Linked DNA regions of Homo sapiens: all the other regions are linked to region 2. Evidence: promoter capture Hi-C in 16 types of primary human blood cells and fetal thymus (Javierre and others, 2016). All regions are on one chromosome and are shown on one strand. Each heading gives the region's core, a stretch centred on a gene start or on the middle of the fragment in contact. The rest is flanking DNA. Distances are from core to core; before and after follow the strand shown.

Region 1 (2,700 bases), core at 24-2,523, 470 kb before region 2:
TAGTCCTTGTTACTATTTTCTATACAAACAAGTTACTAAAGTTTTTTAACCTGTGGGGAGGGGGCTCAGTTTTCTTAACAGAAAAGTGACATGTTTAGAGTGGACATGTCACACACACTCTAGTGTGACAGGCTTTCCAGCTCCAGAATGTCTCAGTTTGGACACTGTCAAATCATTCATGCCTTTGTCACAAAGAAGCTGGTGTCCATCTGGCATGGTAAAGAGAACAAATGTTTTGGAGGAGCTCCCCAAAAGTCTGCAGAAAGAATGACCTTTCCATTTGGTGGTTATTAACTAACAAGGAGATTCAAAATAGAAAATGAACAAGAGAATAATTTGACGGCCTGGAGAGTGTGTTCCAGCTCCTTGATTGTGCGCGTGCTTGTTTTATCCTTGACTGTTAATTGTAATGGAAGACAAGGTTTTATTCCTTATGGAAACTTCTTTAGTGCTCAGATGGGCAAGTGATGTGTGTGGTGACTGTCAGTGGATGGATCAAGAGTAGATTGTAGAGTTTGCTGCTGCTCAGAAGCAAAATTAATAAATACCTGAAAAAAACCATAAAAATGTTGTTTACTTATAAGAATACAACCCTTTGGTCTCACTTATTAGAAAGGAGACATTGTCTCAGAACACTGGCCAACTTGCCCTAAAAACCACAGATCATTAATTCATACCATTCCCTCCCAAATCACATAAATATATAAATCCATTGAGGACACAACTCTAAGAACATTCATATTTCTAGACAATTATAATAATAAATCACCTAGAAGTTCTCAATACCTTAAGCCTGGTTTTAGAAATATGTCGTGATGTATTTTTATATTCCTGGTACTCTTAGTAAATGAAACGCTTTTTGTTTCCCCAGAAGTTAGCTATCATTTGATTACAGTGAAGCCCCCCCGAAAAGTCTTGTGGGGCTGAGTAAGGTGGAGATAGGAAGGTTAACGTGACATGATTTAATTAGTTAAATGCCCAAAATAATATGAACAAATTGAAACTCTACTGAATATCTATCTTAAGTAGAAGGGTATACAGTAAACAAACTTTCTGACACTCACCATCCTTATCATAATTTTATAAAATTTAACAAGATGAATTGAATAAAGTGGTGAATTGAAGCAATTCGATTAATTTTAAAATTGGCTACATTAGGTCTGATGAACAGACCAAAATTCAACCTCCTGAATCATTCAAGATACTATACCTGCTCCAAAGTGGTTTGGTTAATGGAATAATGCTTAATATTCAAGAAGGTTTTATTGTTCTCTATAACTTTGAACAAGTCAGCTAGGCATCCCCATCTTTTTGGCACATGATATTCTAATAAATTCAGGTGCTGTCCCTAAAAGCAAAAAAAAAAAAAAAAAAAGTATCATATAACTAGCATTATTAAACAAAATTGATCATACTACATTTAATTGGCAAAAAAATTCAGTTACGTTTTCTCAACCTACACTTAATTTTGTGAGTCTCCAATGAATGCTTATTGATGACAATTTTTCATGGGGTATATTTGACAAACAACGTTCAACTGAGTGGCATTGCTGTTCTGCCCCCTGATATGCTCTAACCTTGCAACAGCATGGGGAAGCCCTGTTTAAGGAATCATAAGATGCCCAAAGATATTTGAAATGTAGGAATTTAACATGGCCTAACAGAGACGGATGGAAGGGCCCTGAGTTTTACACTGGGACTTGGGCTTATCTCTCACTATTCTCATCATTAGCTGAGCAACACTTGGGAAGATATTTAAACCTCTGATCCTTGTCTTCATGTATGCCAATGGAGATAATTATGTCTGTTTTATAGGGTGACTCAGAGTCATAATTGAGCATGAATGACAGTCTCACACAGCATGCTTCTTGCATAGTAGGATTTCACTAAATGACAGTTGTTGAAATAAATAGAACATAACTACTTTATGGACTACAGCCTCCTAGAAGTTATAATAAACTAGCATCCCACAGTTATCCAAGAGATTTTTAGACAGTGCTTCTCAAACTTCAGTGTTCATAGGAATCTCCGGGTCACCTTGTTAAAATGCAGATTCCCATTCAATAGGTTGGGGCCTGTGATTCTGCATGTCTAACAGGTCCCAGGCAATGAAGATGCTGCTGGTTCAGTGACCATACTTGATGACAGCAAGTTTATAGAGGATTGTGATCTCAAGCATAGGGCTATTTCTGTGAAGCAATGCTGAAACCATCAAGCCTATAAACCCTACAGCAAATATATGGAAGAGATTAGCTTTTGCAATCTTCTATGCTGAACAAGATGAGTTATGCAATGGACCTGTGCCCACAGATAAGAGGCGTGATATGTAATCACAGGCTGCTCTGGCCAATCCAGGAAGCAATTAAGCAGGCTTGTCACTCTTCAGAGTGGTCAAGCAATATCAGCTATCCATGCTATTTTTGGTAGGGAGGCAGGGCCTATACTTTGCAATGTGGCTAAGGTAACAAGTAGTATCTTATAACAGCATAGAATAAAAACAAAAAAAGACAGGTACATTTATTATTTTTTTTTAGCTGAAAACAAAGAAATAATACAAGATATTAGCACTACCTTGAACTGAATTCCTGGAAAATAAAGCTTCAAGTGGTCAGAAACAGTGCAATGTTGATTTGCTTCCTTACAGAGCCAAACTTTGACTGTATAACCATCACCAAACCTGAGAGTTAAATAAAATAGAAA
Region 2 (2,700 bases), core at 47-2,546:
CGATCTCGGCTCACTGCAAGCTCCGCCTCCCGGGTTCACGCCATTCTCCTGCCTCAGCCTCCCGCGTAGCTGGGACTACAGACGTCCGCCACCACACCCGGCTAATTTTTTTGTGTTTTTTTAGTAGAGACGGGGTTTCACTGTGTTAGCCAGGATGGTCTCGATCTCCTGACCTCGTGATCCGCCCGCCTCGGCCTCCCAAAGTGCTGGGATTACAGGCGTGAGCCACCGCGCCCGGCCAACTTAAAACTTTTGTACAAACTTTCAACTGAAATTATTTTGATCCTAAAGATCACATAAAAAAGAAAACATCTCCTTTAACTTGTATTTTATTTCAAGACAGAGAGATAGAATATTCTGGCTCGGAGGATTCAGCAAAATGTAATTCAATGTCAATTACTGAATCTCTTCAAACCAAAGCATTTGTCAGCAGAAAATTCCCATAGGTTAACTGTAGACCTTAAAATCAGAAACGATGCAGGTAAATTACTGCACATCTACTTCTCCTGAAAATGACATTTATAGGTATTAATGTTTATATAGTGGCATCAGGAATAAAGTTAGTCATAATAACAAGCAATTGATTTCTATTTCACAAAAACGTACACTTACAGGATATTTGCATAAGTATTCACACAAGTTTCATTTGAACAATTCCAATCTCCTTAGGAAAACCTTGCTAATGTAATTTGAATACAGTTCTAAATAGATGTGAATTAACACTAAAGATGGTGACCCTACAGAATAACAGAGTGGATGTGTCATACCCTGCTCTGGTGAGGCACACTGTGCAGTCTTGTGCTTCGGAGTCAGTACCTGTAGCATTCTGCTTATGCATTAAATGCAGCAAATGCTTTGTTCCTTAAACCTGAGAATTCACTGTTCAGTTTTTACAACGAATGCTTAGAACACAAATTATAGTTCAATTCCACCTGCTTTTTTGTTTGTTTGTTTTTAGAATTTTTCTAAATTTGCCCTTTTCTGATAAATTCTTCAGCCTTGATTTCATCCTGGTCATTAAAGTGTTCAGCTACTTTGGCCCTTGGGACGGGTTTTGATTTAAAATAATCCAACCTCCCCAAATTCCCTGCAGCATGAGTGTTTTTACCTGCCAGGAGGCAGAGGCAGGCAGGAAAGAATAGACCCTGATCTTGCTCCAGACCTCACTGGAACCCTATGGAAAACCAAGGCAAGCACTCACCGGGTTCCTGAGTCTGCAGAGCCAATTCTTCCACAGCAGGGCTTTGAACTGGCACCCGGCATGCCCCATGCCTGCTGCTCCCTGCTCTCAGTCAGGAAGCCAGCCTGTAAGGATGGTGCTTATATCTGCTGGGCTCAAGTGAAGGCATGTTGCCTATTAGTCAATTCTAACAAAAGTGAGTGATGCAAGAGAGATTACTGGTGACTGAATAAAACAGGCATCAGATGTCCCCTCTTGTTCGGCATCTGCTGAGAAATCTTTTCACTAGCTGTTCAGTGTTTCAGGAGGGTTGAATTACAGAAAGCTGCCTTCAGGGACTTTCTCGGGCATACACACATACACAGAGAGGGTGCCCTCCCTTTCCGAGAACCCACAGAACTGATCTGTGCGACAAGAAGTAATGCCCACATTTACCATTTACCTCCCTTTTTTTCTGGATATTAATTAGATGGAATTTTCCTTTTTTCTTCTGAAGCATTGGTTATTACACAAATTTGCCAAAATATTTCAATTTTGGTGGTCCCATGGCAGAGAGTTTGAAGGGAAGGAGATGGAAGCAGTGTTGGTGTCTGGGGGAGTTTGGGGAATGGGTGACTCAAGTTCCACTCTGCTACTGCACCTGCACTTCATACTTCTCCTTCACCCATTTCCTCCAAAGGGATCAGGATCTACGTTTCAAATGGTATCGGGTGCAGATGTGGCAGGACTCAGCAAGTGGCCTGTGGATTACCTCTGAGTCCTGTTTGATTCCTGAACACTTGCACTTTCTAAGTGGCATGATGGATTCAGCTTGCCAGCTGGTGGCTCCATCGTCTTGGAAGCCAGGCCCTCTTGAGTTCCTGTTGCCCCCAGTTGTGGTCAGAAGGATTTCAGGCAACCCAGTCTTGTGGTCTTCTATTTCATAAAGCAATTTTCACAAGCTGTGAATGCTTGATAAATGGCTTTTGCAATAGGAAACAGGGAACACAGGCTTCAGCAAAGAAACTGACTCAATTATTTTGTAAACTTATTTGTTTAGAGCATGCCTATTTTATTTTATTTTTTGTTACATGGCTGGCAGCACTAGAGTGAAGGCCATTACTTAGCAGGATGGCGCCCAGCAACCATAAGTGGATTTGCCTGATCCCCATATGATGTTCCCCCTTGACCTGTGACTTCTCAAAGGTCTTTGGGGTTGCCTAAGTATTGCTACTCTGGTTCTCTTTGCAGATAACATCTAGAACACCTTACAAGTAATTGTCATAATTTTTAAAAATCTAGTATAAGAAAAAGCCTCCAACCATAAGGTTTTTCTCATGTTATGTTCATAGCAGCCAGTTTTTATGCTGCTATGCCAGAATTATGTCAGAGACACAAAAATTATCTCATCCATTGCTTTCATGGAACAATGCTGTGTTAGGATTTTCAGATAAACAGAACCAATGGGTGATTCATTGATCGATTGATTGATTGATTATAAGGAATAGGCTCACACAGTCATGGAGGTGGGCAAGTCCTAA
Region 3 (2,740 bases), core at 192-2,691, 450 kb before region 2:
ACTTCAGTTTGTCTTATTTAACTTCCTACTAGAGAACAAAAATTTCTGTTTAATAGGCCAGTTATTCTCCTGTTTCTTTTTGCTTCCCTTTGTTCCTCCATTATTTTGCCTTTTTTTTACCTTAGAATTAATATTTCCCATAATTTGGTCCCAAAGATTCCCTTCAAGTTTATGCCGCATGATTCCACCTGTATTCCACTTGCCATCAAGCTATTTCAAACATGGTTTACATTGTTCATCTCTGTGCCACTACCTCTAATGCATTCATAGTTGATTAGCTGGCTAAGCATACACGTGATTTAAATTCCTCCTCACCCATAAAACTACCTGTGCCAATCCTTCCCCTAAAACAATGTGTGTGCATTCTTCCTCCTCCTAACTCCTACCTCATGGGCTTTGAAACCTTCTTGTCGTGCTAATGGTCTTTCTTACATAATTTTTTTATTTGAGTGTCTAGCCCAGTTCTTACAGGGCTCATGCCTTATTACCCACTCAATCCCAAGACCCTGGCACTATGTAAACATTCAGTAATGTTTGCAGGTTTAAACTGAGATGCACAACACAGCATTTCGTTCACCAGTCTCTTAGAACAATTATCATATTGTGTTGTATTCATTGTTATGTTTCTGCCTGTACACTATGCCGAGTTTATTGAGATTAGGAATCACATTTTCATCATCTCTAATTAAGTGGTTACTCAATAAATGTGTATGAATGAACAGGACTCATGATGTGAGTCTGAGTCCCCAACAACTTCACCCATCTAAAAATATCTCCAACACTTCTATTTTCCATCTTCATTGTGAGTGAAAAGCATTCTGTTTATTCTTACAGAAAATATTAAAAAATGAATGCCGAATGTTTACTTTTGATAAAGTGACAGCTCTGGGTGATACTGTTCATGACCTGAATTTCCAAGACCAGAGGCAGCTAACCAAAATGTCCAGCATGAGAATGGCATGAGAATCAGAAAGTCTTCCCAGCTAATTATGTCAGAGCAATGCTGTGTTCATACAACATGATGTTGTGACAACAAATGAGATGACAAATTACACATAGCAGGTGAGGTGAAACACGCTGAGGATATGGAGGTGCACTATCTCTCTTAAAATCATTTCTAGTAAAGAGAATTAATTCAGTGGTTAGTAGCAGCAGGTGAATTATATGATGCTTTAAACTAAAGTAAAATATAGAAAAATATAACTCAGTAGCACATCATTCCATAGTTCCACATCATGGCAGAAATTATTTTTGTGCTCATGTGCAAACTTCCTTCCCCATTTGTGAAAGTGACATAAACATACTGAATTATCTATTTCACTTTTAAATGATCCACTTCATTATGTGGTGATGCAATCTTAATCCGAGATGTTATGATTATAGTAATGGTTTATAGATATATTAAGTCAAAGTTGCCACACTAAAGCATATGGTGTCACATAAGGTGATACATTAATTTGCAGCTACTCAGACAGTGGTAGCTTGAGAGCTCAAACAAGATTCTGCCTCCTTTCATTTTTTTTAGGAAAAAAATCCACAAACAAACCCTTCTACACTATTCTTTATATTTTAACTTAGATGGCTATATAACACATCTATGATGGGATCCTTTGAACTTTATTCTACTTTTATTCTTGGTTCTCAAAGTTTACAGTTGATAACTCAAGGAAATGTAAATTCTCATAATCTTAACAATTTTCTTTAAATCATTTGAAGCTGTGTTTTCTTTATAAAAAATAAAAAAGAAAGAAAGAAAGAAAAACAAACAAACAGGCTGGGTGCCTTGAGTCACACCTGTAATCCCAGCACTTTGGGAGACTGAGGCGGGCAGATCACCTGAGGTCAGGAGTTCAAGACCTGCCTGACCAACATGGTGAAACCTCATCTCTACTAAAAATACAAAATTAGCTGGGCATGGTGGTGCATGCCTGTAATCCCAGCTACTTGGGAGGCTAAGGCAGGAGAATCGCTTGAACCTGGGACAGAGAGGTTGCAGTGAGCCGAGATCGTGTCATTGCACTCGCACACCAGCCTGGGCAACAAGAGCAAAACTCTGTCTAAAAAAAAAAAAAGAAAAAAGAAAACAACAACAACGACAACAAAATACACAGCCTTTATCCTCCCTCACCCCAAAATCATAAATTGGCCTGGAGTATTTCACATTGTAAACTCTGTGCTTCAGAAGCATGTTTTATTTCCTTTCCATGACAGGAGTGTTTTTACCAAGTCAGACTTAAGCCTCCTATGTCAATCAGGTTCAAGGGAGGAGAAAAGCAAATAGATGCCGCATGCAGCTGTTAATGGTTCCCTCCAGGTAAGTTGGGAATATGCTCAGTGTCTGCAAGTACAAAGGCAGCTAGCTACCAGGGCACCATTATGTGCTCAATTTATGACATGCAGAGGATTTGAGGATGCATCCCTAATTGCCTGGGACAAAACATCAGTGCCCAAAAGGATAGTTTTAGCCACCTGTGGCTATTAGGTGAGTGCCACTCCACTCCAGCTCTCCTCTGTTATTAACTGAGCCACACACACACACACACACACACACACACACACACACACACTCTATCATGTGCTCACACGTAAACTCATGAATCTCTATACCATATAGGGCTCTTTCATAGCATATGACAATCTTAAATTGAAAGCCCAAGAGTCCGTTCAGCTCAGCTGCTCAACCTAACGACCTACCCTCAATGGAGGAAAAGAATCCAGTCAGGTGAATAAGTGAGGCTGC
Region 4 (2,700 bases), core at 112-2,611, 260 kb after region 2:
CATGGCAGAAAGCGAACAGGGAACACACACGTTACATAGCCGGAGTAGGAGCAAGAGGGGGGGAGGTGCCACACACTTTTAAAAGACCAGATCTCATGAGAACTCACTATCATGAGGACAGTACCAAGTGGCAGGGATTGGGGGTGACACTAAACCATTCATGAGAAATCTGCCACCATCATCCAATCACCACCCACCTCCTCACCGCCAGTGCTGAAGGCCCAACCTTCAATACTGGGGAATGCAATTCGACATGAGATTTGGTGGGGGCACAGATCCAAATCATATCAACCTGCTTTCCCACATTAGTCTTAGTTCCGGTTCTAGAGCTAATATATTCGGTCCTCACTCAGCTTTTTTTTGGCATGGTGTTCCTGTTTGGTTGTCTGAAGTTTGTCCTCTAGTAGATTTTTTTTAGGAAAATTCATGCAATAAGCTTCCTCTAAGTTCCCATATTCAAAACTGTTGCTGCCATTATGTTGGAACGACAGTGTGCTGGCTCTGGACTCCTTGGACACATGTTCTTTTCCTGGGGAATCTGGTTGTCTTTCCATTCTGTTCTCTCCTGTAACCATGGTTCTCCAAGTTTGGCCCAGCAGCATCATGACCACCTGAGACTGGCTTAGAATACAGACTCTCAGGCCCACTGCAGACCTACTGAATCAGAAATTCAGCTGGTGGCCCTGACACTCTGTCTGAAGAAGCCTCCCTGAAATTCTCCATTCTGTCTTTCTTACCTTGTGGTGATTCCAAAGTCAGCCTTCTTTTTTCCCCGTCATTGATTAATGTTTTTCTGTGATTGTCATGAGAATTATTTCTTTTCTTTTTTTTTTTTTTTTTTTTTTTGAGACACAGTCTCACTCTGTTGCCCAGGCTGGAGTACAGTGGCATGATCTCGGCTCACTGCAACCTCCATCTCCTGGGTTCAAGTGATTCTCATGCCTCAGCCTCCCAGGTAGCTAGGATTACAGGCATACACCACCACGCCTGGCTGATTTTTGTATTTTTAGTAGAGATGGCATTTCACCATGAAGGCCAGGCCAGGCTCAAACTCCTGACCTCAAGCGATCCACCCGCCTCAGCCTCCCAAAGTGCTAGGATCACAGGTCTGAGCCACCGTGCCCAGCCGGTAGTTATTTCTTTATTTGCAACTCCAGCAGCTTTGCCAGCACGTGTCTAAGTGCTGGCCACTCTGGGTCACCTTTCTCCAGCACATGGTGTACCTTTTCAATGTGTCCTTTGTTTCAGGAAAGATTTCTTGAATTAGATCTTTACATTGTTTCTATTCCAATATGTCAGCTTTCTTTTTGGGAGACTGGCATACATCTATTAGTTCTCTTTTGTCTTTTCAAATCTTTTTTGTTTTTCCTTTTTCATCTGATCCGCTTTCCTCATATTTTCCTCTGCATCCCTTCTTTTGTGTTCTACACTTTCCATTCTCCATTATACTCTAAAATGTTGACTTTGTTTCCTTCCAAGACCAGATGCTCTCTGGTCTTCCATCTCAGAAGATAACGATTCCTCAAGTTGTTCAGTCCTGTTCTTGTGGACAGTGTTTTTCTGATAAATTATCTTAATCTATTATGAGTATTTCCTGAATTTTCCCTCTTGACTCTTATAGTATCTTGTACATGCTGAATGGTCTTTTCTCCCTCCTTTTCTCCCTTTATCCTTCCCTCCCTTCTTCTTTCCTGCCTTCCTTCCTTTCTTCCTTCCTTTCTTTTTTTTTTTTTCTTCACAGCATTACTCATAATTTAAAGAGTTGCATTTTTTTCTGAACTAACTGCTGGTGGAGTGTGTGTGTGTGTGTTGCGTACACACATGTATGCGTGTTGATGATATTCACAGCCACTGAGCCCTTTGGCAACTGAGTTCTCACTTTAGGACGTTTTCTGTTTTCTTCCTTCAATACGGTTCCTGCTCATGCATGCTTGATATTTGCCGCTTTTAGCAGTTTTTGCGTCTATTTTGTATTCTGAACATGCTAGCTACCTCCTAGTTTCACTAAACAAAGAGAGAAAAAGTTTTTATTTTTATTCACTGTTTTCCTTTTTGTTTTTGGATTAACTCCTAGAAGATTAAGTAGAAGGCTAAGTATATCTCTATTTCACATCAGGACTTGCTCTATTATAATAATTTTAAGCATCTGCAACTTTGATACATATTCATTGGTTTCTTTTGTTGTTTTATGAATAAAGTAAGGAATTGGTATTTGTATTAGGCCATTCTCCAATTGCTATAAAGAAATACTTCAAACTAGGTAACTTATAAAGAAAAGAAGCTTAATTGGCTCACGGTTCTGCAGGTTTTACAGTAAGCACGGGTGCCGACATTTGCTTAGCTTCTGGGGAGGCTTCAGGAAGTTTACAATCATGGTAGAAGGCTACAGGGCAGCAGGCACAGCACACAGTAAAAGCAGAAATGAGAGAGAGTGAGATGCCACACACTTTTAAATAGCCAGATTTCAAGAGAAGTCACTCACTATCGCAAGGACACCACCAAAGGATGGTACTAAACCATTCATGAGGAATCCACTCCCATCATCCAGTCACCTCCCGCCAAGCTCTACCTCCAACTTTGGGTATTACAATTCGACACATTAGATTAGGGAGAGGTAAACATCCGAACTATATCAGTATTACATCTTTTATCAGGGGTTAAGTCTAAAGTCAACTTGAGGCTAGGTGCAGTGGTTCATGC

What was found. Contacts are between HindIII fragments. The CHiCAGO score rates a contact against its expected background, and 5 or more counts as called.
Region 1: a contact is called between a fragment that was not itself captured here and the fragment with the promoter of ABCA13 in region 2, in 1 of 17 cell types (neutrophils). The highest score is 7.4, in neutrophils.
Region 3: a contact is called between a fragment that was not itself captured here and the fragment with the promoter of ABCA13 in region 2, in 1 of 17 cell types (neutrophils). The highest score is 5.4, in neutrophils.
Region 4: a contact is called between a fragment that was not itself captured here and the fragment with the promoter of ABCA13 in region 2, in 6 of 17 cell types (activated CD4 T cells, non-activated CD4 T cells, naive CD4 T cells and 3 more). The highest score is 8.3, in activated CD4 T cells.

The regions. Positions count from the first base shown.
Region 1 is chr7:48,643,265-48,645,964 of GRCh38, reverse strand. ABCA13 (ATP binding cassette subfamily A member 13) reads right to left here. Exons shown (of 62, transcript NM_152701.5): 60 at 2,572-2,677; 61 at 1,211-1,348; 62 at 1-548. The coding sequence ends at 453. Among named protein-coding and RNA genes, the nearest start is that of LINC02838, 64 kb to the left of the region's middle. The HindIII fragment of the contact is 2,655 bases long and covers 1-2,600 here.
Region 2 is chr7:48,170,054-48,172,753 of GRCh38, reverse strand. It overlaps ABCA13 (ATP binding cassette subfamily A member 13), which reads right to left and starts at 1,296. Exons shown (of 62, transcript NM_152701.5): 1 at 1,202-1,296. The coding sequence starts at 1,270. The HindIII fragment of the contact is 8,502 bases long and covers 1-2,700 here.
Region 3 is chr7:48,623,887-48,626,626 of GRCh38, reverse strand. All of the region lies in intron 59 of ABCA13 (ATP binding cassette subfamily A member 13), which reads right to left. Among named protein-coding and RNA genes, the nearest start is that of LINC02838, 83 kb to the left of the region's middle. The HindIII fragment of the contact is 4,277 bases long and covers 1-2,740 here.
Region 4 is chr7:47,910,962-47,913,661 of GRCh38, reverse strand. The region is part of intron 8 of PKD1L1 (polycystin 1 like 1, transient receptor potential channel interacting); the gene reads left to right. Among named protein-coding and RNA genes, the nearest start is that of PKD1L1, 36 kb to the left of the region's middle. The HindIII fragment of the contact is 1,845 bases long and covers 439-2,283 here.